6 separate regions of the Homo sapiens genome follow, and regions 2, 3, 4, 5 and 6 are each linked to region 1. Evidence: promoter capture Hi-C in human tissues and cell types (Jung and others, 2019). All regions are on one chromosome and are shown on one strand. The core of a region is centred on a gene start or on the middle of the fragment in contact, and the rest is flanking DNA. Distances in the headings are between cores, read along the strand shown. Region 1 holds the start of CYP4F3 (cytochrome P450 family 4 subfamily F member 3). Region 2 overlaps RAB8A (RAB8A, member RAS oncogene family). Region 3 overlaps TPM4 (tropomyosin 4). Region 4 has its middle 3.8 kb from the start of LINC01855. Region 5 overlaps LINC00905 (long intergenic non-protein coding RNA 905). Region 6 holds the start of LINC00661 (long intergenic non-protein coding RNA 661).

Region 1 (4,669 bases), core at 1,052-3,551:
TGATCTCAGCTCACTGCAACCTCTGCCTCCTGGGTTCAAGCAATTCTCCTGCCTCAGCCTCCTGAGTAGCTGGGATTGCAGGCACACACCACCATGCCCAGCTAATTTTTTGTAATTTTAGTAGAAGCAGGGTTTCACCATGTTGGTCAGGCTGGTCTCGAACTGCTGACCTCGTGATCTGCCCGCCTCGGCCTCCCAAAGTGCTGGGATTGCAGGTGTAAGCCACTGTGCCTGGCCCAGTAGGCACTCTTTAAGAGCAGGTGTCACACAGTAGAAACTCTATGTAGACCATATGTAGACCATGAGTCACAGAGTGGGCACACTATGAAGAGCAGGTGGCAGCAGTAGGCACTCTTTATGTAGAGCAGGCAGCAGTGAGTAGGCACTCTTTATCAGGAGCAGATGATACTCAGTAAACACTCTTTATATAGAGCAGGTGGCATCTGTAGGCACTCTTTATCTAGAGCAAGTGGCATTCAATGGGCTCTCTCTCTTTTTTATTTTTTTGTGAGACAGAGTCTCACTCTGTTGCCCAGGCTGGAGTGCAGTGGTATGAACTCAGCTCACTGCAAACTCTGCCTCCCGGGTTCATGAGATTCTCCTGCCTCAGCCTCCCGAGTAGCTGGGATCATAGGTGCCCGCCACCACGCCCGGCTAATTTTTGTATTTTTAGTAGAGATGGGGTTTCACCATGTTGGCCAGGCTGGTCTTGAACTCCCGACCTCAGATGATCTGCCTGCCTTGGCCTCCCAAAGTGCTTGGATTACAGGCATGAGCTACTGTGCCTGGCCAGTAGGCACTCTTTATGTATTGCAGGTGGTACTGAGTAGGCACTTTTTATGTAGCGCAGGCAAGAGTAGGAACTCTTCATGTAGAGCAAGCAGCACTCAGTAGGCACCCTTTATGTACAGAAGGCAGCCCACAGTAGGTACACTTTATGGAGCACAGGCAACACTCGAGCAGGCAGCACTCAATAGACCCTCTTTATGTAGATCAGGAAACACTCAGTAGGAAGTCACCATATAGAGCAGGTGGTATCAGTAGGCACTGTTTATGTAGAGCACTTGGCACTCAGTAGGCATGTGTTATGTAGACAGCAACTGGTGCTCAGTGGGCACTCTTCATATACAGGGGGTGGCACTCAATAGGCACTCACTATGTAGAGCAGGTGGCACACAGTAGGCACTCTATGAGGAATATCAGGAACTGAGTATACAGGGTTAATGTAGAGCACCTGGCACACAGTAGGCACACTTTATGGAAAGCACTTGGCACAGAGTAGACAGGATTTAGCACCTGGCACACAGTAGCTGCCCTTCATTTAGAGTATTGGCACACAGTAGAAGTACTTTCCATGCAGCCTTTGTGCAGAGTAGAGACTGGCACACAGCAGCTCAAGTGCTAGTTGCCACCCTTTCCCTTCACTCCTTTTTGGGGCTCCCTCCTCTTAGGAGCCCTCATTGTCCCCCGCTAAGGCCCTCATCGAACATCCCATTTCCCAGATGGGAAGACTGCACCCAGGAGGGGCAGTACTGACCAAAGTCAGAGCAAGGATGAGGCAGAATGAGGACTCCATTCATGGTTCCCTGGCTCTGCCCTTCCCCTGCCTGGACCCCATCCGTTCCCTCTCATCCTAACCCTCCACGTCCCCGCTCTGTCCTCCTATACTGAGTCCGGCCTCCAGATTTGCTTTTCCAGCTGAGCTCTTAATCTCCAGAATCTGACCCAGGTAATCCTCAGTGGGGCTGGATTCTTTGTTCCCGTTCCTAGCAGTCAGGTCTCCAACAGGGCCCTGGACTGCCTGGAGGCAAGACTTGAACTCCATCCAGCAGCAGGGGGATAGAGGCTTGTCTCTTCCAGGTTGCCTGATTCAGCATCCAGAAGTGGTACACGGTGTCCTACCGGCCCAGGGTTAGAGAGGAGCACAGGAGATGATCTGGAACAAGGCTTGGCCTGGCCTGGCTCGCTTGACACCTGAACTCTCAAGTTCATGCTTTTATCTGCCACACACTCAGTAGGTGCTCTTTAAGAGCAGGTGTCACACAGTGGAAACTCTATCTGACCCCTCTCGGCTTACTCTCCACCTTATGTGGGAGGTGCTGAGACCTGAGGATCCAGTGCCTGTGCTGTGTCACCCTGAGCTGGTTCCTCTGCATCCAGCTGGTCTCCCACACCCAGGTTTTGGCCAGCTGCCCAGACATGGGAGCGGCACCCAGGCTGTGGGGATTGGCTGGCCCAGCCCAGCCCAGCCTAGCCTCCCACAGCCTTCCCTACATCAGGGGCCAGGGGAAAAAACCTCCCAGAAGAAGGGGAGAGGAGGTTGTGTGGGACAAGGTGCTCCTGACAGAAGGTGCCAGGGTGGGGGTGGTGGGCCTGGGGCATCCTAGCCTGTGATGGAGATGGGCACTGGGCAAGGGATTGGGCGCACACATAGGGGAGCCCCAGCCTTCCCACATTCTCCATTGCTGCCCAAGGCCCAGGCAGCTCCTGGTTGCTGGCTTGGAGGATGAGTGGTTTTCTAACTGAAACCAAGCCCCTGGCAACGTCCTAATGATTCAGGCTGGGCCTTTCTGGACTTTAATCAGTTTCTCTGTCTTTCTCAATCTAAGTGCTTACCGGGTAACTGGAGGCCACTTGGTTGCTGGTTTTGGCTGGGCCTTTCTGGACTTTACCCCTCAGCCCCTGTTTATCCATCCCTGTTTACTCTTACTGTTCTATCTCCAGCACTGCCCGTCTCTGCCTCTCTCCACTGTCCCTGGAGCTCCCTGGGCCCTTCCCTGGGCCTCAGGACCTCACTCACCACCCCATCTGCCCTGCAGGATGCCACAGCTGAGCCTGTCCTCGCTGGGCCTTTGGCCAATGGCAGCATCCCCGTGGCTGCTCCTGCTGCTGGTTGGGGCCTCCTGGCTCCTGGCCCGCATCCTGGCCTGGACCTATACCTTCTATGACAACTGCTGCCGCCTCCGGTGTTTCCCGCAACCCCCGAAACGGAATTGGTTCTTGGGTCACCTGGGCCTGGTGAGTGTGGCAGCAGGACGGGTCTGGGGTCTCAGGGTGGATGGACTTCCTGAGGGGTAAGAATGAGGCTCAGGTGAGAGGGGGTGGGCTGGGGTCTGGGGTGGCAGAGAAGCAGGGGAGGCGTCTTACTCATTCCTCTGCTTACTCATTTCTGTGAGGTGCCAACCCAAGCCCTTCTCACCTCCCTGTTCTCCCACTCTTGGCCTGTGTTGAATCCTTTTCCTGCCTGTCTTTCCACATTAATGCACCTCTGCGGGGCTCTTGGGCAGGGGGTTGGGTGCACAGAAAGGTGAACCCCTGGCGTTCCCACATTCTCCATTGCTGGACTCGAGGCCTCCTGTACCCACTGTTCAGGGTCCTCTCCCTACCTGGCCTATTTCCTCTTATGAGGGTATAGGTGGGCCAGAGGAGAGGTGTGGGCTGTCTCTCACCTCCACCACATCCGGAGGCACCTTCCTCTTATCTTGTTCCTCCCCAGTAAGATGTCCCAATGGGGTCCTGTTGCCAAACCCACATAAAAGTTGGCCACTCACTTCCCCTTTCAGAAGCCTTCCCTGACCTTTCTCCTCCCCCAGACCTTGCCCTCTGACTTAGACCTGCTCTCCCCTTTGCGGAACGTGGTCTCAATCTGCTCATTGCAAATGGCAGGATTGATGGGTGTGTCCACAGGTGAAGTGGGAGGGTGCACAGGATGCACTAGCACAGAGCCTGGTGCAGAAGCTTCTCCCAGGTGGGAGCCACTGTCATGATGGACAGTTAGAGTCACCTCTGCTCCCCTAGTGACTGCTGAGAAGGGAAGGTCCCCTGTGTGCAGAACCTTCTCCATGGGAGGAACTGGAACCTGTGTGGCTGGTGGAGGAACCAGCCAGGGCATGAAGGGATGTGGGGACCAGCCTTAGGGACATGTCCTGAGTCCACACTGCTCCCCACAAACCTCCCCTGTGAGGACCTCCTCATATGCCCACCTCTGGGCTGAAATGACTCCCAGAACAAGGAAATTTTTCCTCTCAAGCTAAGTGGGCCTCTGTGAGTGGACAGTGTGTCTTTTCCTTCTGCCTTGGGATGCGCTCTTGGGACTTGGGGGTGGCCCCAAGAGAGATAGAGCAGGAGGAATGTAGACAGATAGATAGGTAATAGGATAGATGGATGGATGGATGCACAGATAGGGTGAATAGATGGCTGGCTGGCTGGATAAGTAGGTGGGTAGATAGACAGATAGATAGATAGATAACAGGATAGATGGATGGATGGACAGATGGATGCATGGATAAGATGGATGGATGGATGGATGGATGGATGGATGGATGGATAATACATACATAAAGTAGTAGATAAGATGGATACATTAGGTGGATAGATAGGTAGAGTGGATATGTAGGATGGATAGATTAGATGGATGGATAGATAGCTAGATGATTGATAGATAATAGGATAAATGGATGAGTGGATGAATGTACAGATAAGATGGATGGATGGATGGATGGATGGGCAGATAGATATATAGATAGAAAAGTTAGATAGGATGAATAGATTAGATAGATAAATGAATAGATAGATAGGTAGGTAGATAGATAATAGGCTAGATGGATGAATGGATGCACAGATAGGATAGATGAATGGATAGATAGACAGATATATAAGATAGAATGGA
Region 2 (4,669 bases), core at 1,327-3,826, 480 kb after region 1:
GAACCTCTTTGTGCAGGCGCCATTGTCATCCCTGTTTTATAACAAAGAACCTGAGGTTTGGCCCGGTGGCCTGCCCCGCTGAAGTTCACTCAGCAGGTAAATGGCTAGGCTGGGCTGGGCTGTTTGTCTCTAGCACCCACATCCTCAACCAGCACCAAGATGATCGTGGCTTTCCATCCTCCTAGACCCAGGCCAACCTGAACAGATGCCACCACTGGCTGCATGTGGCTATTTGAATTTACCCAATTAACATTGAAAATCCAGCCAGGCGCAGTGGCTGATGCCTGTAATCCCAGCACTTTGGGAGGCCGAGGTGGGTAGATCTCTTGAGGTCAGGAGTTGGAGACCAGCCTGGCCACATGGTAAAATTCCATCTCTACTAAAAATACAAAAATTAGCTGGGCGTGGTGGCGGATGCCTGTAATCCCAGCTACTCAGGAGGGTGAGGCAGGAGAATCGCTTAAACCTGGGAGCCGGAGGTTGCGGTGAGCCGAGGTTGCACCACTGCACTCCAGTCTGGGCAGCAGAGCAAGTATCCGTCGCTTAACTACTTAATTAATTAATTAATTTTAAAAAACATTGAAAATCCAGCTCCTTGGGTCAAAGCAGCTATGTTTCTGATGCCCTAGAGCCTTGTGTAGCCAGTATCAGTCATATGGGACAGCACCACCATTGCAGCTGTGTCCTCATCTCTGTCAGCATGCTCATAGACCCTTGGGCCTCAAAATCCCAAGTTTGGGAAGCATTGGATGCCTAGAGACCCATGGTGAGGTTTGCCCAGACGGGGCCCTGGAAAATAGTCACTTGGAGCCCTGAGGGGTGTTTCCAGGAAAACCTGGAATAGGATGGCTGGCTCAGTGTTTTCCAGGTGCTTCTGCTTGATTCTAAGAGAGAGCTCTACCCACTGCCCCACTAACGTCCAGGTTCTCCCCTCAGCTCCCTGAAATAGGTATAATCCAGGAATTTGAGTCTTAGGCACATGTCACCAACTTAGTGGTGAAGGCAGGAATCCTGGGCTTTCAGAGGGTCCAGTCCCCGGATAAAGGGCCCCACGCCCCCTGTCCCTGACCATGTCACAGTCACAGGGTGTGCCCACCGTGGATGGGGCATGGCAGACATCATGGGCCACTGCAGCCTTGAGGTTCTTCGCCATGGTTGCGGCTGACTGTGAGGCCATTATTCATGTCCCTGAATTCCCAGGAGGATTTGGGGTTGCAGTGACTTTCTTGCCCCATCTGTGTCGTTTTTGTCCCACACTCTTGCACCCACATCTGTCTCACCATTACCACATGGCCCGTGTCCTTATTCTGCAAACTTGGATGGCCCCAGACAACTTGGCCAGCAGCAGAAGTCATCAGTGCCCTCAGGTGCCACAGATGCAGGGCTGGGCCTGGGGAGCAGGTAGCGAGGAGGAAGGAAGAAATCCAGGCCTGGCCATGAGCAGGCCACGTGCCTTGGAGCCCAGGATGCCCGGCAACAAAGGGGGACTTGTGATGGCACTGCAGGCTGGCCCGCTGTGGGCACTCCACAAGGACATCGAGAACCACACAGACCGTCAGAGGGTGGCCCCCACATGTGGGTTCTGGGGCTGAAAAAGGCCCAGGGATATTGCTGAGAGGATAGGTGTCATCAGTGCTTTTGGAGTTAGCCCCCCCCCGCCCCCCGTGCTTGAATCTTAAAGGTCACGTCTCTGTGCCTCAGTTTCCCCTTGCATCGCATGGGCATGTTTGCGCTTGTCCACAGCAGTAGCGAGGCTGTGGACCCAGGCTGAGGCGGGGCTGCCCCGAAGCTCTTCCAGGACCCACGAGCCGTCTCCCAGTTGCTCACGTCTAGGTTAGGGAACTGGAAGGGCCTTGGCACTCTCGGCTCCATCTTCACACAGCCGGTTCCCTCTGTGGTGGGGTCACTGGAAGTTGTGTGGATGTCGGGTCAGGACTTCCTGGGCTCAGTTGTGCCTGGTAGGTGGCTCAGGCAGAGCGTGGGGTGAGCAAGGGGTGAAGAGGAGGCCGATTGCAGGGGAGGGTCAGCGTGAGGGGAGTGCTGCTGGCAGTGGGCCTGTGGACCGGCTCCCACCGTCAGGCTGCACCACCCCGTGGGCCATGAGGGGAGCCAGCCGGGCTTGTCAGCGAGTGCGTGGCAGGGGCTGGCCTGTGAGGCAGAAGGGTCACCTCAGCGGCCCGGGGGGCAGGACAAGGCTGGTGCCAGAACCCAGCAGAAAGAAGGGCCACAGGGATGGAGAGGAGGGGGCTGGCTTCCGGGGCTCCACAGAGGTGGGGAGGGCGGCAGCTAATGGGCCTGGCTGTGCAGTGGGTGCTGGGCTCCCCACCACTGTTCTCTGGTGCCGCTGAGGCCTCCCTTCCAGAGCCTGCAGCCGATCAGGCACCTGTGTCTTCTCTCCCCGCGCAGGGCATCATGCTGGTCTACGACATCACCAACGAGAAGTCCTTCGACAACATCCGGAACTGGATTCGCAACATTGAGGAGGTGAGGCCCTCCGGCTCCTCCCACTGTCCCTGCTTCAGTCCTTGTCCCAGAGCCCTCTGGTTTACTCATGAGAAGGCCAAGGTGCAGAGACACATACAGGCCACTTGCCCACAGCCTCCTAGTCAGGGACATGGTGGGAGCAGGGACTGAGATGCAAGCAGCCGGCCCCAGGGACCACACACTGGCCTGGCCCCACCCCGGAGCCCCTCGGAGCCCATCCCTCCAGCTAGGCTGTTGGATCTGGCCAGTGTCATGGTTATAAGAGAAAGGATATCCAAGCTTGTGGTCACCATGAGTGTTGGGTGCTTTCTAGAGAAGGAAGGGTCTAGCACAGGTGTGACCCTTGTAGTTGGAGGGTGTGGTGAGCAGGCGTCAGTTGTACTTTGAGCTATATCGGAGCAGGGTGTGACCTGGTACAAACGACCTGTGTTCAGACCTTGAACCATAGAGCAGTGAGAAGTAGGCCAACCCCTCCTCCCCTCCCAAAGCCAGCATCTTCATCTTCTGCTCCCCAAAGAGCTGACCTCACCCCCAAAGCCTTCCTGGCTGCCGGCACCTGCAGCTTTCTATAACTAACCATGTGGGGCTTCAGGTCTGAGGCACAGCCAGAGAACTTTTCCCATCTATAAAACCACAGCAAAAGGGCATATCACTGTCCACCCAGGACTCATGGACCTCCCAGGCCAGGCCGAGAGGCCACCCCATCATTTGTGAGTCATTGCACTGGGCTCACCTCCCCAGTGACCCTGAGAGGGCTGTGCTGCCAAATTTGCCAGTGCAGGGCTGCACCCCAGCTGGGAAAGCTGTCTTCATCCGTGGAGAGGAGGAGAGCCTGGTCTTTGTGAAAGGTCTCTGTTTCTGGCCAGCGGGCAGGAGCCACCTTCTGGTTCATGGGAAGTGAGGCAGGGAGTGGCGCAGTAGGTTCCAGAGACCAAGTCTGAGCTGGTGGAAGAAGACAGCAGTTTCCAGTGTCCCCGTCCTCCAGGAAGCGTGGTCCGCTCCATGGGGACCCAGGGAGACTTGACGAAGGAGCTGCCTTTGGGTATGAGGGCAGAGTTTGGGCAACATCAGACAGGGTGGTGAAGTGCCTGCAGCTGGTGACGGCCTCGAGTTGCGACCACCTCAGGCACGGCCTGTTTCTGGAGCCCAAAAATAGTTGAAATGTCAGGGCCAGGCGAGGTGGCTTATGCCTGTAATCCCAGCAGTTTGGGAGGCTGAGGCGGGCAGATCACCTGAGGTCAGAAGTTTGAGACCAGCCTAGCCAACATGGCGAAACTCTGTCTCTACTAAAAATACAAAAAATTAGCCTGGTATGGTGGCAGATGCCTGTAATCTCAGCTATTCGGGAGGTTGAGGATCGCTTGAACCTGAAGGCAGAGGTTGCAGTGAGCCGAGATCATGCCACTACACTCCAGCCTGGGAGACAGAACGAGACTCCATCTCAAAAAAAAACAAAAAAAAAAGTGTCAAAGCAGAAGGTCCCAGGACAACAGCTGGGGCCTCTTGCAGAGGAGCCAGGGAGGGAAGGAGGAAAGCCAAGGTCGGGGGGTAAATATCTCAGCCTCACTCACCTCCCATAGGCTAGACCCGCCCAGCATCCCAGGTGCGGGGGCTTGATTGATACAGCCATAGAAGCTGCCAGAAAGCATTTCAGAAAATGTGCATTTGCTCAGAGTAGCAGCTAGAACCCTGGCCCCAGCCCTGGCATTGGCTGTGTGACATGGGGCCGGCTGCTTGGCCTCTCTGAGCTTCAGCTTGTCCCTTAGACCAGGCTGTACCTAGCAGTCCTGACCCCACCGCTCTGATTTCTGGGGACAGACTGTGTGTTGGCAGAGGCACCTGGCCTGTGTCATCCGGTCTGATCCCCCGTCTGTCCCCCTCCCTCTCAGCACGCCTCTGCAGACGTCGAAAAGATGATACTCGGGAACAAGTGTGATGTGAATGACAAGAGACAAGTTTCCAAGGAACGGGGAGAAAAGGTGGGCATGGTGGCACAAGGGGCAGAGGGCCTCGGGGTCTTGGGGTTCTTGTGCAGAGGCCTTCCCCTGTCCCTCCTCTGCCCCAGGGGCCTGAGACGAGTTGGTCACCCCAGTGGGGCACGTGCCATGGGATGACAGAAGCACACACCCAGCCGGGGCTTCTTGGGTGCACTCTGCGGGCATCTCATCAAAACCTACCATGGCCC
Region 3 (4,669 bases), core at 715-3,214, 450 kb after region 1:
CCAGGAGATGGAGGCTGCAGTGAGCTGAGATCACACTACTGCACTCCAGCCTGGGTGACAGAGCGAGACTCCATCTCAAAAAAAAAAAAAAAAACCAAGATGAAGGAAATGTGTGCACAGAGTTCCATCTTTGCAGTGTGTTACAGTGCTCAGTAGATTCAGAGACTCATTTAGATGAGAGATGGGACTAGGGGTGGTGTCTCACGCAATTAGCCAGACATGGTGACGGGTGCCTGTAATTCCAGCTACTCAGGAGGCTGAGGCAGGAGAATCGCTTGAACCCGGGAGGTGGAGGTTGCAGTGAGCTGAGATCGTGCCACTGCACTCCAGCCTGGATGACAGAGCGAGACTCCATCTGAAAGAAAAGATAGATGAGAGGTGGGTGGAGGGGTGTGAGTGAACGGCCGTCCTGATGAGATTGCTCCTTGCAGAGGAATGAAGGTGATAGAAAACCGGGCCATGAAGGATGAGGAGAAGATGGAGATTCAGGAGATGCAGCTCAAAGAGGCCAAGCACATTGCGGAAGAGGCTGACCGCAAATACGAGGAGGTGAGTGGGGCTGGCAGATGGCGCAGCAGCAGGAAGTGGGAGGAAATGCATCTGCTGAGATAGGGAGGACACCGGGGCCAACGAAAGGAAGCTCTCGGTTAGGTCAGCTGTCCTCCTGCGTGAACATATGTTTGTCCAGAGACAACCACTTGGCTAGGAAACTATCTCCCACGATGCCAGAAAGTGCTGCGGACGCTTGTCTAACGTAATGGGAAAACCGAATGATCAGCTCACTTGTGTCGTTAGCTGGGAGTTTTGGCACAGTTGGGCAAAAATGGAGGATTGTGGTCCCAAGCCATGGAGTTTCAGACCATGCAAGCTCAGGCCCTCCTTTGCCTCCCTCGATGGCTCGGCTCTTCCCTCCCGCCTCTTGTCTGCCTCGCTCCTCAGGCTTGAGGAAGAGAATCAGGATTTCCTCCAGGCCCCAGGATGGCTCTTTCAGTTGAAGCGCCAGCAAAAGGCCAGGCGCGGTGGCTCGTACCTGTAACCCCAGCACTTCGACCGAGGCGGGAGGATCACCTGAGGCCAGGAGTTTGAGACCAGCCTGGGCAACATAGTGAGACCCCATTTCTAAAAATAATAATAATAATAATTAGCTGGGTGTGGTGGCATGCACCTGTAGTCCCAGCTACTTGGGAGGCTGAGGCAGGAGGATCGCTTGAACCTGGGAAGTCAAGGCTGCAGTGAGCTCTGACCACGCCACTGCACTCCAGCCTTGGAGACAGAGCAAGACCCTCTGTCAAAAACATAAAAGGGCTGGGCATGGTGGCTCACGCCGGTAATCCCAGCACTTTGGGAGGCCAAGGCAGGCAGATCACCTGAGGTCAGGAGTTCATGACCAGCCTGGCCAACGTGGTGAAACCCTGTCTCTACAAAAAATACAAAAATTAGCCGGGCATGGTCGTGCATGCCTGTAAGCCCAGCTATTTGGAAGGCTGAGACAGGAGATTCACTTGAACCCAGGAGGCAGAGGTTGCAGTGAGTCAAGGTTGAGCCACTGCATTTCAGCCTGGGTGATGGAGCGAGACTCTGTCTCAAAAGAATAAAAAAATAAAAAAGAGGCCAGGTGTGGTGGCTCATGCCTATAATCCCAGCACTCTGGGAGGCCGAGGTAGGTGGATCAGGAGGTCAGGAATTCGAGACCAGCCTGGCCACTACGGTGAAACCCCATCTCGACTGAAAATACAAAAATTAGCTGGGCGTGGTGGCACGCGCCTGTAGTCCCAGCTACTTGGAAGGCTGAGGCAGGAGAATCGCTTGAACCCAGGAGGTGGAGGTTGCAGTGAGCCGAGACTGTGCCACTGCACTCCAGCCTGGGCAACAGAGGGAGACTCCGTCCCCCTGCAAAAAAAAGAAACACCAGAAAAACCCATGTTGCAGCTGGTCTAGGGGTCTGGGTGGGGCATCATTGGGGGCTGTCTGCAGTGGATGGGAGAGGACACGGCTGGTGGGGATCGGGCTCAGCTGGGCCTTTCTGTCTCTGCAGGTAGCTCGTAAGCTGGTCATCCTGGAGGGTGAGCTGGAGAGGGCAGAGGAGCGTGCGGAGGTGTCTGAACTGTGAGTGGCAGAACAGGACTGAGCGAGGCTGGCTCGATTCCTGGGGCGGAGTGGGAAGGAGCTGGCTGTGTTGGGAATTGGCTCTGACCGGGGTCTCTGCTCAAGTGGACGGGCGTCAGGGGCTCATGGCTCATCTTTTCTCTTGGCTTCTGTGACAAAGAGGTGGTGACTTGTTCTTACTGCCATGGGAAGCACTGCCCACGTGTTGACCCTTTCTGCAAAGATATGAGGAAATAGGAGTGAGACAGGAGGCAGCAGGGAAGCCCAGAAGTCCCATTTTCCCAGAGAGGATATCTCAGGGGGCTGTGCCATCTTAACAGAACACTGACCTGCTCCAGAAGGCAGGCTCCCCCGGTCAGTATGTAAATGCTTTTGCTCCTGTCAGTGTTTGGCCGTGACACATTCCTGGCGGGAAGGTGAGAAGCTTAACCAGAATCCCACAAGCAAGCACCGAAAAACAAAACACCTGTCCTCTTGGCCCCGGGTGAGGAATTCAGCCCCACAGAGCATCCGGGAGTGCTGAGAGAGATCTGGTTTCACAAATCCACTCCGGGCTTCCTTCCCGGAGTGTCCCCTGCAAACTCCCATTGCTCTCTGCCCGCCTTCTGCCCTCAGTCCCATTCTTACACCTTCCGGAGTCGGCCTCATCAATCATAGATTTCACAAGTCCTTGCAGCCTTACCCTTGGCAAAAGACCAGGAGTGTTTTCCAAGCCCTCCAAATACTCTTCGGGCGCACCTCGCCTCTGCCTGGTATGATAAGCCTTTGATAAGCCCATAGTATCACACTGCAGAAAAATCCATTAACATTTTCTCCCCACATTCCTTCTGCCCCCCACCGGGGGAGCTGTGTAGGTTTCTCCTTTGGAAAATTTATTGTTGGGGCGATTGCTATTATTGCCGGCTGTAAGGGAAGATAAGACACAAAAATCCTTTGTCTTTGTGCAGAAAATGTGGTGACCTGGAAGAAGAACTCAAGAATGTTACTAACAATCTGAAATCTCTGGAGGCTGCATCTGAAAAGGTAGGTGGTTGGCTTGAGCTGGAGGGTGGCTTGCTGGACTTTGTTCTTTTCTTCTCCCGAGGGATGCAGGAGCCTGTCAGGTTATGGGGAATCTGCCCTTTATTTAACAGTAGCGTTGGTGCCTGGCAGCCAGGGTTTTTCCCCTACAGAAAGAGCTGGATTTCTCCTGCACACTCTTGAGTCCTCTTCCATGGGGTCTGAGCACCATCTTTGATCTCCATCTCAGGAGGATAGAGATAGAACATGAGGCTCTTCTTAGCGAGATCTGAGCATAGTTGTATAAATAAATACAGAGCCTGCCTCTCACCTGATTCCCCTGGTTCCTCCAGAAATACCATCTCAAAGGTATAGCAATGATCAGAGGTGGAATTGGGCTTTTTAGTTTGAAACAGCACCCAAAGCAGTTGCTACGTGGCAGCTACGTCGGGAACAAAGGACACACTTCCACGGCCGAACCCCACTGAATTTCCCAGCCTCTTCCTCATTCTTGCTCCTGCTTTTGCAGTTTCACAGACATTCTTTGTTCTCCCATCACCTCCACCCCCCACTTTTTTTTTTTTTTTTTTGAGACAGAGCTTCGCTCTGTTGCCCAGGCTGGAATTCAGTGGCATGATCATAGTTCATTGCAGCCTTGAACTCCCAGGCTCAAGCGATCCTCCCACCTCAGCCACCACCTGCTATTCACTCAACTGGGTGTGGCTTTCCTTTTGCTTGATAAACCCCTATTCAGCCTTTTTTTTTCTTTTCTTTTTTTTTGAGACAGGGTCTCACTCTGTCACCCAGGCTGGAGTGAAGTGGCGTGATCTCAGCTTACTGCAGCCTTCGACTCCCAAGTTCAAGCAATTCTCCCACCTCAGCCTCCCGATTACACGCTAATTTTTATAATTTTTGGTAGAGATGAGGTTTCACCACATTGGCCAGGCTGGTCTCGAACTCCTGATCTCAAGTGATCTGCCCGCCTCGCCCTCCCAAAGTGCTGGGATTACAGGCATGACCCACTGCACCTGGCCTAGAGATGAGATCTTGCTCTGTTGCTTAGGCTGGAAGTGTAGTGGCGTGATCATAGCTCACTGCAGGCCCCAAACTCCTGGGCTTAAATAATCCTATCACCTCAGCTTCCTGAGTAGCTAGGACTTGCAGGCATGTGCCACTACTCCAAAACTGTATTTTTTTTTTTTTTTTTATAGAGCACAGTCTATGTTGCCTAGGCTGGTCTTAAACTCCTGGCCTCAAGTGATCCTCCCACCTTAGCCTCCCAAAGTGCTGGGATTACAGGCGTGGGCCACCGTGCCTGGCTAATTTTTCTAGTTTTTGGTAGAGACAAGGTTTCATCATGTTGGCCAGGCTGGTCTTGAACTCCTGGCCTCAAGTGATCCTCCCACCTTGGCCTCCCAAAGTGCTGGGATTACTTTGGGAGGCCGCCGAGCCTGGCCTCCTGTTCATCCTTTGAGCTTCTGCTTAAACATCACTTCTGAGAGTCCTTCTCTGATTTCTCATCTAGGTTAGGTATTTCTCTGCTGTGTAGCCCTGTCTATACTTT
Region 4 (4,669 bases), core at 1,288-3,787, 420 kb after region 1:
CCAAGGCAGGTGGATCGTCTAAGGTCAGGAGTTCGAGAACAGCCTGGCCAACATGGTGAGACCCCATCTCTACTAAAAATACAAAAATTAGCCAAACGTGGTGGCGGGCCCCTGTAATCCTGACTACTCAGGAGGCTGAGGCAGGAGAATCACGTGAACTCAGGAGACAGAGGTTGCAATGAGCCGAGATCGTGCCATTGCACTCCAGCCTGGGTGACAAGAGCAAAACTCCATCTCCAAAAAATATTAAAAAATTAAAAATTAAAAATTAAAAAATTAAAAATAAATAAATAAATAAATAAAAAGTAGCTGCATTTAGCTGGGCATGGAGGATCTCACCTGGAATCCCAGCACTTGGGAGGCCAAGGTGGGAGGACAGCTTGAGGGGCCAGGAGTTCAAGACTAGCCTGGGCAACATAGCAAGATCCCACCTCTACCAAAAATGTAAAAATTAATTAAAAAAAAAGAGAAAGAAATAAAAATTAGCCAGGTGTGGTGGCACACACCTGCAGTCCTAGCTACTTGGGAGGCTGAGGCAGGAGGATCACTTGAGCCAGGAGTTGGAGGCTGCAATGAGCTATGATTGCATCACTGAACTCCACCCTGGGCAACAGAGTGAGACCCTGTCTCTTTAAGAAAAAAAGAAAAGAAAAGAAAAGAAAGGTAGCAGTAAAAGTGAGACCTAACCAGGCCAAATCTAGGATCCCAAGAGAAACACCTTGGTGACAGTTGTCATCCCAGAGACACAAGTAGTTGTCAAGAACTGTGAAGAGTCTGGGATCTTATCCTACTTGCAAGTGGACAATTGAACCTGCTACAGTTTTATGGATGTGGGCAGAAGACACGAGACTCCAGTATCAGAGACAAAGGACTTTATTACTCATGGCACAGCAGGCAGCATGAACTTTGTGTTTGCACTAGCCCACATTGGGTTAGTTCCACAGCCAAGGAACTCTGAGCTTAAAGATCTCGATTTTTATAGTTGATTGCAAACAAACCTGGTCTATTTTAATACCAGAGGGAGACATTATCTTTATTATATGGATAGCAAATGAAACTGCCCTCTGCTTCACAGGAAGAAACTCTGTCTTCCAAGGCTGTTTGCTATACAAACATCCTTGAAAAGATAGCTGGAATAAAAGCTGTCTGAGCCCCTGATTTTGGGGTGTACAGAAATGCAAGAGACCCGTGGAGAATTGTTCTCCAATGACACCATTGACACCTAATGGGCAGTGGCTGTCCATGAAGGTAACTCAGGTAGGAGGTTGAATAGGGGAGGCTGCTCAGGTTATAGTTTGTGGGTCAATGTGTAGAATCCGGAGTCAGCCACTCTTGGTTCAACTCCCAACACCACCACTTCTTAGCTGTGCTGGCTTGAGCAAGTTACTTCACCTCTCTGTGCCTCAATTTCTCCTTTTATAAAATGGAAATGACAGCAGCACTTATCTCACGAGGTTATTGTGAAAATTAAGTGAGCTGATGTGTGCAAGGCACGTAGAACAGCATGGACACATTAAAGACATGTCAGTGTTAACTATAATTATTATTAATTATCGTGACGATGCCACCAAGCTTGTGGTCATGCCTGTTTTACGGGATTAATGGCCAAGCTCTCTAACCCACACAGTTCCCTCGGAGTGTGGCTCAGAGACTTTGGGGAGGACTTAGAGCCCTTTTCTCCTTGCCCGCCCCACCAATGGTTTGCCCCTTCCCGGATAATTTTTTTTTTTTTTAAACAGGATCTTGCTCTGTAGCCCAGGCAGGAGTGCAGTGGTGCAATCTCAGCTCATTGCAACCTCTACCTCCCGGGTTCAAGCAATACTTGTCAGCTTCCCAAGTACCTGGGATTACAGGTGTGCATCACCTATGCCCGGCTAATTTTTTTGTATTTTTAGTAGGGACGGGATGTCACCATGTTGGCCAGGCTGGTCTCGAACTTCTAGCCTCAAGGGATCCAACCCCTTGGCCTCTCAAAGTACCAGGATTACAGGTGTGAGCCACTACACCTGGTCTAGAAACTCTTTTTTTATTAAGAGATAGAGTCTCACTCTGTTGCCCAGGCTGGAGTGCAGTGGTACCAGCATGGCTCACTGCAGACTCAAACTCCTGGGCTCAAGTGATCCTCCTGCCTCAGCCTCTGGAGTAGCTGGGACTACAGATGCATGCCACCACACCCAGCTAATTTTTAAATTTTTTGTAGAGATGGGGTATCGCTCTGTTGCTCAGGATGATCTTGAACTCCTGGGCTCAAGCAATTCTCCCACCTTTGCCTCCCAAAGTGCTGCGACTACAGGCGTGAGCCACTGCACCCAGCTTCAGGGTCATTTTTATTGTCATCCTTGTCATCTTATTACTCTATTGTACCCCATGAAATGAAACTCCATAGAGTGCAAGCTGAGAACATTTTTGCTCTTTTCTATTGGAACTCAGTAAACTCACCTGTTGCCTTGGTCTCTTTGCATGTCTCAAACTGCAGGAGACACATTTGGGGGCAGTCCCCATCCTCTCTTCTGTTGTTTGATCTCTGCAGCCTCACCACCCACCACACCACACCACACCACATCCTCACCTCTGCATTCAACGGCAGACACTCTCACCTGCCCTCAGTCCCTTCCTCCTATGACCTTCGCATAGACCCCATCACCACCGTTCAGGCCTCCCTCAATTGCCACTTCCTCAGGGAGGCTTTTTCCTGACTTCCACCCAAGACTAATCAGGTGCCTGCATTTTGCATGCATTAACATTTTTAGGCTGGGCGTGGTGACTCATGCCTGTAATCCCAGCACTCTGGGAGGCCGAGGTGGGCAGACCACCTGAGGTCAGGAGTTCGAGACCAGCCTGGCCAACATGGTGAAACCCTGTCTTTGCAAAAATACAAAAAGTAGCCAGGTGTGGTGGTGCATGCCTGTAATCCCAGCTACTTGGGAGGCTGAGGCACGAGAATTGCTTGAACCTGGGAGGCGGAGGTTGCAGTGAGCCGAGATCGTGCCACTGCACTCCAGCCTGGGAGTGCAGGACAGAGCAAGACTATCTCAAAAAAAAAAAAAAATTTAGCTCACACTCTGGGTGCCTGCCCAGATCCACTGGGTTCCTACTGTTTCTCTCCACACCAAGGGGTACTTCTAGCAGCTTCATCTCTCTGCTAGGGGGAGAGGCGGTCTTCCTCCAGCTGCTGAAGTGAGTGTGACCCATACAAGGGCAGATCAGCACAATCAACAGCCCCTAAGAGCAGCCTTCAATCAACAGCAGCATGGAATTGGTGGATAAATACCCCAGCTCCTTCGCCCCTCAGCTGGGACAACTCCAAAGAGCATGCTCTCTGCTGCCTCCAGAGGCCCTCAGTGGGACTGCACCCTATTTGTCCATGGCAGTAACTGGTTTCATAATGCATGCTTAATGGTTACTTTCTTTTCCCTATTTCACTTCCCATCCTCTACTTGTATCTCCTTGGGTCACTTCCCAAATAAACTATTTGTCCTTGCATTTTTTAAGAGATGGGGTATCTGATGCCCAGGCTGAAGTGCAGTGGTGCAATAATAGCTCACGGCAGGCCAGGCACAGGGGCTCATGCCTGTAATCCCAATAGTTTGGGAGGCCAAGGCAGGAAGATCACTTGAACCCAGGAGTTCAAGACCAGCCTGGGCAACATAGCAAGACGCCACCTCTACAAAAACAAAAAAGTATCCAGGCATAGTGGCACATGCCCGTAGTCCTAGCTACTCAGCGGGCTGAGGTGGGAGGATCAATTGAAGCTGGGGGATCTAGGCTGTAGTGAGCCACGATTGTGCCACTGCACTCCAGCCTGGGCAACAGAGTGAGACCTTGTCTCGAGAAAGAAAGAAAAGAAGGAAAGAAGGAAAGAAAGGAAAGAAGGAAAGAAGGAAAGAAGGAAAGAAAGAAAGAAAGAAGGAAGGAAGGAAGGAAGGAAGGAAGGAAGGAAAGAAAGAAAGAAAGAAAGAAAGAAAGAAAGAAAGAAAGAAAGAAAGAAAGAAAGAAAGAGAAAGAAAGAAAGAAAGAAAGAAAGAAAGAAAGAAAGAAAGAAAGAAAGAAAGAAGGAAGGAAGGAAAGGAAGAAAGGAAGAAAGAAAGAGAAAGAAAGAAAGAAAGAAAGAAAGAAAGAAAGAAAGAAAGAAAGAAAGAAAAGAAAAGAAAGAAAGAAAAAAAGAAGCTCACTGCAGCCTCAAACTCCAGGGCCCAAGTGATTCAACTACCTTATTCTCCTGAGTAGCTGGGACGACAGGCACAGACCACCATGCCCAGCTAGTTTTTGTATCTTTTGTAGAGATGGGGTCTTGCTATGCTGCCCAGGCTGGCCTCAAACTCCTGACCTCAAGTGATCCTTCCACCTCAGCCTCCCAAAGTGCTGGGATTACAGGCGTGAGCCATTTTGCCTGACCTCCTTGAACTTTTGTATCAAAAGACAGTCATTTGCCCTATTGTAATTCATTCCATAATTGCAGTTATTGGTTGTCTTGCCCCACTGGGATGAGTCATGTCCACCACAGTGTTCCAAAAACACGCACATGGTAGTAGATGCTTGATAAATGACTCTGGGTCTCATGACTGGGAGGTGGCTGGGATGCTGATGGGCTGTTCTCTTTCCCCCATCCTGTCCTTAGAAGCCCCCAGTTGGAGAGGTTGTAGTGCAGGAGGGAAGCTCACTCCTGAGC
Region 5 (4,669 bases), core at 940-3,439, 400 kb after region 1:
GTTCAGTGAAATAAGCCAGGCACAGAAAAACAAATACTTCCTGTCTCACTTGTGGAATCTAAAAAGCTGAACTCCCAAGTAGAATGGTGGCTCCAGGGACTGAGGGAGGGAGGAGGGACTGAACAGATATTGGCCAAAGGGCACAAGAGGAATTGTTCAACATGGTGACTCTAGTCAATGTATTTTATTCTTGAAAAATGCTGAGTAGTCTGGGCGCAGTGGCTCACACCTGTAATCCTAGCACGCTGGGAGACTGAGGGGGATCACTTGAGGCCAGGTGTTTGAGACCAGCCTGGGCGACATAGTGAGACCTCATCTCTTTTTTTTTTTTTTTTTTTTTCAATATAAAAAAACTGAATTGCTGAGCAAATTTTAAGTGTTCTTACCACAGAAAAAGAGATAAGCATGGAGGTATGGTCACGGGTATGTCAAGGAAATGTTAAATTAGCTTGATTTAGATATTTTACGCTGTACGCCTATGTCAAAACATGTTCTATGCATCATATTTACAACTTTGTCAAAATAAAAAGTGATTGGGAAATTGGATCAAACTAGAAAAATGTAAGACTCTGAATGATGGAGGGAAGGCAGACACAGTGGGAATTTCAGGACCCAAGGAATGACACGAAAGTCAATTCTTTGGTGTTTTGTTTTGTTTTTCGCCACATACAGCCCAGGCTTGGACCTGAAGAAGCTGGCAACCCGCGAACGCCAACAGGCACAGTCGAAAAAAGCAAAAGAAAAATCCCAAACAAAATCCTGTTCTCCCTAGCCAAAGGACCAGGAGAGGGGGCAGCCCAGCAAGACAAAACACATTTACACAATTCTGGCTAACCTCAGCCAGTCCTTGGCCGTGAGTTCGTTTTTCTGCCACCTCACTTTGGGGCTGGGCTGGTTCTCCACCCTCGCAGGGTGCGTTTCTCAATCCAGACGCTGGGGGGCGCTAGTACCTCGCGAGCTCCGCGAGGATCATTCCCGGGACGCCGCGGAGTCACCTCCCCTCCTAGGGACCCAGAGCTTCCCAGGGCCGCGCCTGTAGGTTTTCCAGAGGTCCCCGAAAACGTTAAAGACCTGGAAGGAAAAAAAAACTGTAAAACCACACACTTTGATATTTGACAACGTAAAAGCAAGGCTGCAAAATCAAAATCAATGAACGCTTGAAGGAAATGTCTACTTAGCTAGACATAGTGCCACCTGGATTCACTGTTGGCTCCAGAATCCCCCCCACGGTGTCATCACGTTGGAAAGTTTTTGTGGGTTAGATGTTCTCTGTTGGCAAGAATGCCTGTACATGCCCAAGAAGCATATGAGTTTAATGGGACCCCAATAACTTCAAAAGCAAAAAGATAACGATCCTTTCTACTTTTTTAACTTTGTGTGTGTGTGTATCAGGGTCTTGCTCTGTTGCCCAGGCTGGAGTGCAGTGGCGCAATCACAGCTCACTGCAGCCTCAAATTCCTGGACTCAAACCGTCTTCCCACTTCAGCCTCCCAAGTAGCTGCGAGGATGCACACCACCACGCCCGACTAATTTTTTTTATTTTTTTAGAGTCAGGGTCTCACTATGTTGCCAGGGCTGGTCTCAAACTCCTGGGCTCAAGTGATCCTCCTGCCTCGGCCTCCCAAAGTGCTGGGATTATAAGTGTTAGCCACCGCACCCAGCTTCTTCTTGTTTTAACAGGAAGAAATACATTCAATGTGAGTGCCTTTTAATGTTTGATATTAAACAAGTCCTCCACGAGTGCAGGTACCCAGGGATGTGCCATACAGCCCTCTGCCTTCACCTATGCTGTTCCCTTTGGCCTCCATCACCCTTCCCTTCCCACATCAGCCAATTCACCTCCCATTCATCCTTCATATTTTAGCTCAGTGTTACCACTTCAGGAAAACCTTCCCTGGTCCCAAGGGACAAGATACTGTTTGTCTTCACCTGGAACATCCTAAGGGCTCAATAACGAATGAATGAATGAATGAATGAATGAATGAATGAATGAATGAATGAACACAGGTGCATAAGCATGATAGGCTTGTCCTTGTAGGGCCTTCCCATGCCACTCAAAATACATATGACCTCATTGCAAAAATATGAATACTGGCTCACAAAGTCATCCTGCAAAATCAGGCACATTCAACAACAGCCCTGTGCTGAGCCGTGTCGGGGCAGTAGAGAAAGCTCAACCCAAAACCCTACTCTTGAGAGGCTCCTCTCTGGGGGTTGGAGCACAGAGCCAGACACAGACATCACTGGCCTGTGTGTTCAATGAAGGAAGGGAGGGAGGGAAGGAGAGAGGCCGGGATGAATGGTTGGATGGGTGGATGGATGAAGGGATGGAAGGATGAATGAGTGGATGGATGGATGGATGGATGGATGGATGGATGGATGGATGAATGGAGGAATGGAGGGATGGATGGATGAATGGGTAGATGGATGAATGGATGCAGGGAGGGATGGAGGGATGGATGGGTGGATGGATGAAGGGATGGAGGGATGAATGGGTGGAGGATAGATGAATAAACGAATGGATGGAGGGATGAAGGGATGAATGGGTAGATGGATGAATGGAGGGAGGGAGGAAAGGAGGGGTGGATGGGTGGGTGGATGGATGGATGGATGGATGGATGAATGGGTGGAGGATGGATGAATAAACGAATGGATGGAGGGATGAAGGGATGAATGGGTAGATGGATGGGTGGATGGATGGAGGAATGGAGGGAGGGATGGATGAATGGGTAGATGGATGAATGGATGGAGGGAGGGATGGAGGGATGGATGGGTGGATGGATGAAGGGATGGAGGGATGAATGGGCAGAGGATGGATGAATAAATGAGTGGATGGAGGGATGGATGATGAATGGGTAGATGGATGAATGGATGAAGGGATGAAGGGAGGGATAAAGGGATGAATGACTGGGTGGATGGATGGATGAATGAAGGAATGGAGGGATGGGTAGATGGATAAAGGGATGAAAGGAGGGATGGAGAGATGAATGGGTGAATGGATGTTTAGGGATGGGCCAGAGCAAGGGCCCGGAAATGGGGAGTAGTGACAGGAATATGTCCCATAGAAGGTGCTTGGGCTTGGTATGGAAAGCAGGGTATGAGGAATCGTCTGTAGGAACAGGGACATTCCAAGCAGAGGAAACTGCAGAGGCAAAGGCCCTGCAGCTCAAGAAAACCTGGTTTCAGGATACAGTAGGGAGTGGGAAATGACTACAGAGGAGACTGGCAAGGACAAGTGGAGCCAGGTTGTGAGGGACCCATCCACGACCCTTAACCATGAATTTTGCCCCAAGGCATGCATCAAAGTACTGGCTATTCTTAGTATCAGTATTAAGATGGTATGACACACCCAAGAGTTTATTATATGCTAATAGCTTCCCCTGTTAATTTCAGTTTGGAAAACATGTTTTATAGTGTTCACACTACTCTGGTGGTGCAATATTTAGTTTTTAAATCAATATGCCTGTACAAAACTGTTACACAATGGCCCACAACTGTAACCCCAGTGCCTTGGGAGGCCAAGGCAGGAGGATCCATTGAGACCAGGAGTTTGAGACCAGCCTGAGTAACACACATAGTGAGACCCTATCTCTACAAAAAAAAGAAAAAAAAATTTTTAATGTTGGAACATGAAAAGATGTTCAACATGATTAGCCATCAGATAAATGCAAATCAAAACCAAAATGAGGCCAGGCATGTAATCCCAGCACTTTGGGAGGTGAAGGCAGGAGGATCACTTGAGGTCAGGAGTTTGAGACCAGCCTGACCAACATGGCAAAACCCTGTCTCTACTAAAAATACAAAAATTAGTGGGGAGTGGTGGCTGATGCCTGTAATCCCAGCTACCCAGGAGGCTGAGGCAGGAGAATCCCTTGAACCCAGGAGGCGGAGGTAGTGAGCTGAGATCACGCCACTGCACTCCAGCCTGGATGACAGAGTGAGACTATCTCAAAAAAAAAAAAAAGAGAGAGAAAGACTTCACACTTCACACTCCCTGAGGTGGCTATAAGCAAAAATATAACTACAAATGTCAGCAAGTATGTGGAGAAATTGGAATCCTTGTGCATTGCTGGTGGGAATGCAAAATGGTGCAGCCACTATGGAAAATAATCTGGCAGTTTCTCAAAAAGCTAAATATAGAACTCCCACATGCCCCCGCAATTCCGCTCCTAGAGATATACCCAAAAGAACTGAAAACAGGACCGCAAATAGATATTTGTACACTGACATCATAGCAGCTCTATTCACGCTAGTCAAAAGGTAGTAACAATCCAAGTGTCCGTCCGGGACAATGGAATATTACTCAGCAATATACAGAAATAAAGTTCTGGCCAGACACAGTAGCTCATGCCCGTCATCCCAGCACTTTGAGAGGCCAAGGTGGGCAGATCGCTTGAGCCCAGGAGTTGGAGACCAGCCTGGGCAACATGGCGAAACCCTATCTCTACAAAACATACAAAAATTAGCCAGGCATGGAGGTGCACACCTCTAATCCCAGCTACTCAGGAGGATGAGGTGGGAGGATTGCTTGAGCCCAAAAGGCAGAGGTTGCAGTGAGCCAAGGTCAAGCCACTGCACTCCAGCCTGAGGGACAGAGCGAGAGACTCTGTCCAAAACAAACAAACAAACAAAACCTCAGACAGTATTATGAGAACTAGGACTTTGCTTT
Region 6 (4,669 bases), core at 994-3,493, 370 kb after region 1:
ATCTGTTTTGAAAGAAGGATCAGGGGGCTCCTCGCTTCTAGTGAGCAAAGGCCCTGAGCTTCTACAGCCCTTCGTATTTAATAGATGGAAAGAGCAGGAAGGGAGAGGTAATGGTTGGTCAGCTGCTTGATTTATCACAGGGACACGTATATCTATAACAGCCACAGGTGCTTCTGTGACCCACATTTTCCCTGGCGGGTCCTCACACTGGCTCAATAAACTTGGATGATTTGAGACTTTGCCTTGGTCATTCACTTTTGTGGTCCATGGGGGCCTGGTCATCAAAAGCCCAGTCAATGGGACATAGTCATTGCGGGCCTTGTCTGTGGTGACCTGGTCAGCCAGAGTCTTGTCAGTGAGGGGGAAGCCCGGTCAGCAGGATCTAAGTCAGTGGGGTTTTGCTCGGTGAGGAATTGGTCACTGGGGTCTGCTCAGTATGGGCCTTATCTGTAAAAATCTAGTCAGTGGGCCAGGCACGGTGGCTCATGCCTGTAATTCCAACACTTTGGGAGGCCAAGGTGGATAGATCACCTGAGGTCAGGAGTTTGACACCAGTCTGGCCAACATGGTGAAACCCCACCTCTACTAAGAATGCAAAAATTAGCCAGTTATGGTGGAATATGCCTGTAATTCCAGCACTTTGGGAGGCCGAGGTGGGTAGATCACCTGAGGTCAGGAGTTTGACACCAGTCTGGCCAACATGGTGAAACCCCACCTCTACTAAGAATACAAAAAATAGCCAGGCGTGGTGGCATGTGCCTGTCGTCCCAGCTACTCGGGAGGCTGAGGCAGGAGAATCACTTGAACCTAATCAGGAAGTGGAGGTTGCAGTGAGCCAAGATCACACCACTGTACTCCAACATGGGTGACAGAGGCAGCCTCCATCTCAAAAACAAACAACAAAAAACCTAGTCAGTGGGGGTGTAGGGAGTGGTATTTTGTTCAGTAGGGGCCTGGTCACTGGGGGTCTGGTCAGCGGGATCTGAAAAGTAGAGCCTCGTTAGTAGGGGTTGGGCGGTTAGCACCTGGTCAGTGGAAACCTCGTCATTGTGGTCTAGTCAGCTGAGGCCTGGCGGTGTGGTCCTGCTCAGTCAGCGAAGGTCTCACCATTGGAAGCATGTCAGTGTGGCCTAGTCAGCAGATCCCGGTCCATGGGATTTGGTTATTTGGGACCTGGTCAATGGGGACGTGTTCTGTGGGGACCATGTCAGCAGAGACCTGGTTGTCAGGGGTGTGGTCAGCTAATGCGGTGCCACCGAAGGACTCCCCAGTGGGGCCTACTCAGTGGGGCCCTGGTCAGTGGAGGCCTGGTTGTAAGGGGCACTGTTGGCAGTGACCTTGTCATTGAGCTCCTGGCCAGTTGGGACCAGTCAGTGGTTTGGGTCAGTGGGGCCTGGTCTGTGGGGCCATGTCATGTGGTCTGGTCAGTGGGGCCCTGGCAGTGTGGGCCTGGTCATCAGAAGCCTAGTCAGTGGGGGGGCCTACTCACGGGGGTGTTGGTCAGTGAGGACATGGTCATTGTGGTCGGCTTAACGGGATCCATTCAATGAGGGTCAGGTCATGGAAAATCTGGTCAGTGGGGTTTGATCAGCAGGGGACTGCTCAGTGGGGATCGGACCAGTGGGGCCTGGTCAGCAGGCGGCCGGCAGTTCCTGGGGCCTGGTCAGTGGGGTCCAGCAGTTGGGACCTGGTTGATTGGAGGGTCCAGCCCTACGGGACTTAGCGGGTGTTCTCCCCGTGTGCAGAGACGAGAGAGCGTAAGAAATAAAGACACAAGACCAAGAGATAAAGAGAAAACAGCTGGGCCCGAGGGACCACTACCATCAAGACGCGGAGACCAGTAGTGGCCCTGAATGGCTGGGCACACTGATATTTATTGCATACAAGACAAGGGGCGTAGGGTCAGGAGGGTGAATCTTCTAAGTGATTGACAAGGTGAAGCAAGTCACGTGATCACAGCACAGGGGGCCCTTCCCTCTTAGGTAGCCGAAGCAGAGAGAGAGAAGGCAGCATACGTCAGCGTTTTCTTCTATGCACTTACAAGAAAGATCAAAGACTGTAAGACTTTCACTATTCCTTCTACCGCTATCTACTACAAATTTCAAAGAGGAACCAGGAGTACGGGAGGAACATGAAAGTGACCATTGGAGCACAGCACCACAAGGAGGGGTTTAGGCCTCCGGATGACTGCGGCAGGCCTAGATAATATCCAGCCTTCCACAAGAAGCTGGTGGAGCAGTGTTCCCTGACTCCTCCAAGGAAAGGAGACTCCCTTTCGCAGTCTGCTAAGTAACGGGCGCCTTCCCAGACACTGGCGTTACCGCTTGACCAAGGAGCCCTCAAGCTGCCCTTATGCACGCGTTGACAGAGGGCTCACCTCTTGCCTTCTAGGTCACTTCTAACAATGTCCCTTCAGCACCTGACCCTCTACCCGCCAGTTATTCCTAGGTTATGTTAGTAACGCAACAAAGAGTAATATTAAAAGCTAATGATTAATAATGTTTATAATAATGATTGATAATTGTCCATGATCATCTCTATATCTAATTTGTATTATGACTATTCTTATTCTAACTATTTTCTTTATTATACTGAAACAGTTTGTGTCTTCAGTCTCTCACCTCGGCACCTGGGTAATCCTCCGCCCACAGTCAATAGGGGTCTGCAGCTGGGGCAAGGTCAGCGGGGATCTGATCAGTGAGACCTAGTCAGGTCTCACTGACTGACTAGGCCCTGGGGGTTGGGGCCTGGCCAGCAAGAGTCCAGTAGTTGGGGCGTGTTTGGCGAGGGTCTCATGGTTGGGGTCTGGCCAGCGGGGGTCCCACAGTTGGGGCCTGGTGAGCAGAGATCTGGCAGTTGCAGCCTCGTCCATGGGGGTCTGGCAGTTGGGGCCTGGTCAGCGGGGTCTTATAGTTGGGGCCTGTTTGGAGGGGGTCCAGCAGTTGGGGCCTGGTCAGAGGGGATACGGCAGCTGGGGGTTATTTGGCAGGGATGCAGCAGCTGGGACCTGGTAGGTGGGGTCTGGCGGTTGGGGCCTGGTCAGTGAGGATCAGATCAGTGCGGTCTAGGCAGTGAGGTCTGGACGCTGGGCCTTCATCTGCATGGGTCTCGCAGTTGGGACCTGGTCAGCAGGGGTCTACCAGTTGGGGCCTGGTTGGCGGAATCAGGCAGTTGGGACCTGGTTGTCGGGGGTCCAACAGTTGGGGCCTGGTCAAAGGGGATCCAGCAGTTGGAACCTGGTCAGCAGGGCTCTGGCAGTTGGGGCCTGGTCATTGGGGTCTGGCAGTTGGGGCCTGGTCAACAGGGGTCCAGGAGCTGAGGCCTGGTTGGTGGGCCGTCTAGCAGTTGAGGCCTGGTCATCTGGGCCCGGCATTTGGGGCCTGATCGGCGGGGATCAGAGCAGTGAGGCCTAGTCAGTGAGGTGTGGATGTGGGGGCCTGGTAAGCAGGGGCCCAGCAGTTGGGGTCTGGTCAGCAGGGGTCTCATAAGAAGAGGCCTGGTTGGCAAGGGTCTGGCAGTTGGGGCTCAGTCAGGAGGGGTCTAGGAGTTGGGGCCCAGTCAGTGGGGTCTGGCAGTTTGGGCTTGATCAGTGCAGTCCAGCAGTTGTTGGGGCCTGGTCAGTGGGGGTCCAGTAGCTGGGACATGGTCAGTGGAGTCCAGCGTCCGGGGCCTGGTTGGCAGGGGTCTGACAGTTGGCGCCTGGTTGGTGGGGATCCCATAGTTGGGGCCTGTCAGCAGGGATCCAGCATTTGGGGCCCAGTCAGTGGGGTTCAGCTTTTGGGGCCTGGTGAGTGGGGTTCAGCATTTGGGGCCTGGCCAGCAGGGGTCCAGCAGTTGTTAGGGCCTGGTCAGCGGGGGTCTGATTAGTGAGATCTATTTGGTGGGGTCCATCAGTTGGGACCTAGTCAGTGAGGGCCGTGAGGGCCTTGTCAGTTGCAGCCTTGTTATTGTGGCCTTTGTCAGTGGTGTCTGATGAGCCAGGGCCTGGTCTGTGGGGCCCAGTCAGCAGGACCTGGTCAGTCCACATCTGGTCAGTGGGACCTGGTCATTGTGGGGGTGGTCAGCTAGGACCTGTTCAGTGGGAGCTTAACCATTGGAAGCCTGGCCAGTGGGATCCTGGGTGATCTCAGGCCACGGGTTAGTCCTCGAAGCCTCCGTGATTGCCTCCATCCATGGGGTGGGGGGTGAGTCACAGCACCCCAGTGGGCTTCTGGGAGGAGGAGGTGAGAGGGTGCATTGCATTGAATCCAGCCCTGCCACACAGACCTGGCACTTTACACACTACGCGAGTCACCCCAAGGGGGAAGCCTGGCTTCTGCCCTCTGCCCTCTGCCCTCTGCCCTTTGCCCTATGTCCCTGCCCCATCTGCATCCCCAGGACCACCCAGCATGGAAAGAGCAGAGGCTGAGGAGCACCTATGGGTGCTCTGATGCTGGCCACAGGCCCGGGGGTGACAGTGACAGGGATCCAGGTGCACACCTGAGTGGAGCAGCCAGGCCCAGCTGGAGGAGAGACGTGTTCACCCACACACATGCATCCTCACATACACAGACAAATTGCACGCATACATGTTGACCATTAAGCGGGCAGAGGACGCTGACCCTGGGCCCTGCTGAGCCAGGTAGGGCCCCGTCATGACAGAGGCTGTGAACCCATGCTGTCACTGTGC

What was found. Contacts are between HindIII fragments. The study calls those that stand out against the background at their distance.
Region 2: a fragment that was not itself captured here is called in contact with the fragment with the promoter of CYP4F3 in region 1 in 2 of the 25 tissues and cell types used here (dorsolateral prefrontal cortex and spleen).
Region 3: a contact is called between a fragment that was not itself captured here and the fragment with the promoter of CYP4F3 in region 1, in 2 of the 25 tissues and cell types used here (dorsolateral prefrontal cortex and spleen).
Region 4: a contact is called between a fragment that was not itself captured here and the fragment with the promoter of CYP4F3 in region 1, in 2 of the 25 tissues and cell types used here (lymphoblastoid cells and spleen).
Region 5: a fragment that was not itself captured here is called in contact with the fragment with the promoter of CYP4F3 in region 1 in 2 of the 25 tissues and cell types used here (dorsolateral prefrontal cortex and mesendoderm cells).
Region 6: a fragment that was not itself captured here is called in contact with the fragment with the promoter of CYP4F3 in region 1 in 1 of the 25 tissues and cell types used here (lymphoblastoid cells).

What each region holds. Positions count from the first base shown.
Region 1 is chr19:15,638,596-15,643,264 of GRCh38, forward strand. CYP4F3 (cytochrome P450 family 4 subfamily F member 3) reads left to right here and starts at 2,302. Exons shown (of 13, transcript NM_000896.3): 1 at 2,302-2,350; 2 at 2,820-3,018. The coding sequence starts at 2,821. The HindIII fragment of the contact is 9,363 bases long and covers 1-4,669 here.
Region 2 is chr19:16,123,064-16,127,732 of GRCh38, forward strand. RAB8A (RAB8A, member RAS oncogene family) reads left to right here. Exons shown (of 8, transcript NM_005370.5): 4 at 2,407-2,484; 5 at 4,374-4,463. It overlaps HSH2D-AS1 (HSH2D and RAB8A antisense RNA 1), which reads right to left. Exons shown (of 2, transcript NR_199156.1): 2 at 1-3,924. Among named protein-coding and RNA genes, the nearest start is that of RAB8A, 14 kb to the left of the region's middle. The HindIII fragment of the contact is 7,709 bases long and covers 1-4,669 here.
Region 3 is chr19:16,085,992-16,090,660 of GRCh38, forward strand. It overlaps TPM4 (tropomyosin 4), which reads left to right. Exons shown (of 8, transcript NM_003290.3): 3 at 432-549; 4 at 2,036-2,106; 5 at 3,054-3,129. Among named protein-coding and RNA genes, the nearest start is that of TPM4, 12 kb to the left of the region's middle. RefSeq lists an enhancer at 497-546. The HindIII fragment of the contact is 7,259 bases long and covers 1-4,669 here.
Region 4 is chr19:16,059,575-16,064,243 of GRCh38, forward strand. No RefSeq gene overlaps it. Among named protein-coding and RNA genes, the nearest start is that of LINC01855, 3.8 kb to the right of the region's middle. The HindIII fragment of the contact is 9,039 bases long and covers 1-4,669 here.
Region 5 is chr19:16,040,767-16,045,435 of GRCh38, forward strand. LINC00905 (long intergenic non-protein coding RNA 905) reads left to right here. Exons shown (of 5, transcript NR_024335.2): 5 at 673-1,369. Among named protein-coding and RNA genes, the nearest start is that of LINC00905, 9.4 kb to the left of the region's middle. The HindIII fragment of the contact is 8,864 bases long and covers 1-4,669 here.
Region 6 is chr19:16,012,350-16,017,018 of GRCh38, forward strand. It overlaps LINC00661 (long intergenic non-protein coding RNA 661), which reads left to right and starts at 3,285. Exons shown (of 9, transcript NR_026828.1): 1 at 3,285-3,440. It overlaps LOC105372291 (a long non-coding RNA gene), which reads right to left and starts at 2,707. Exons shown (of 2, transcript XR_936355.1): 1 at 2,622-2,707; 2 at 1,787-2,036. The HindIII fragment of the contact is 6,740 bases long and covers 1-4,669 here.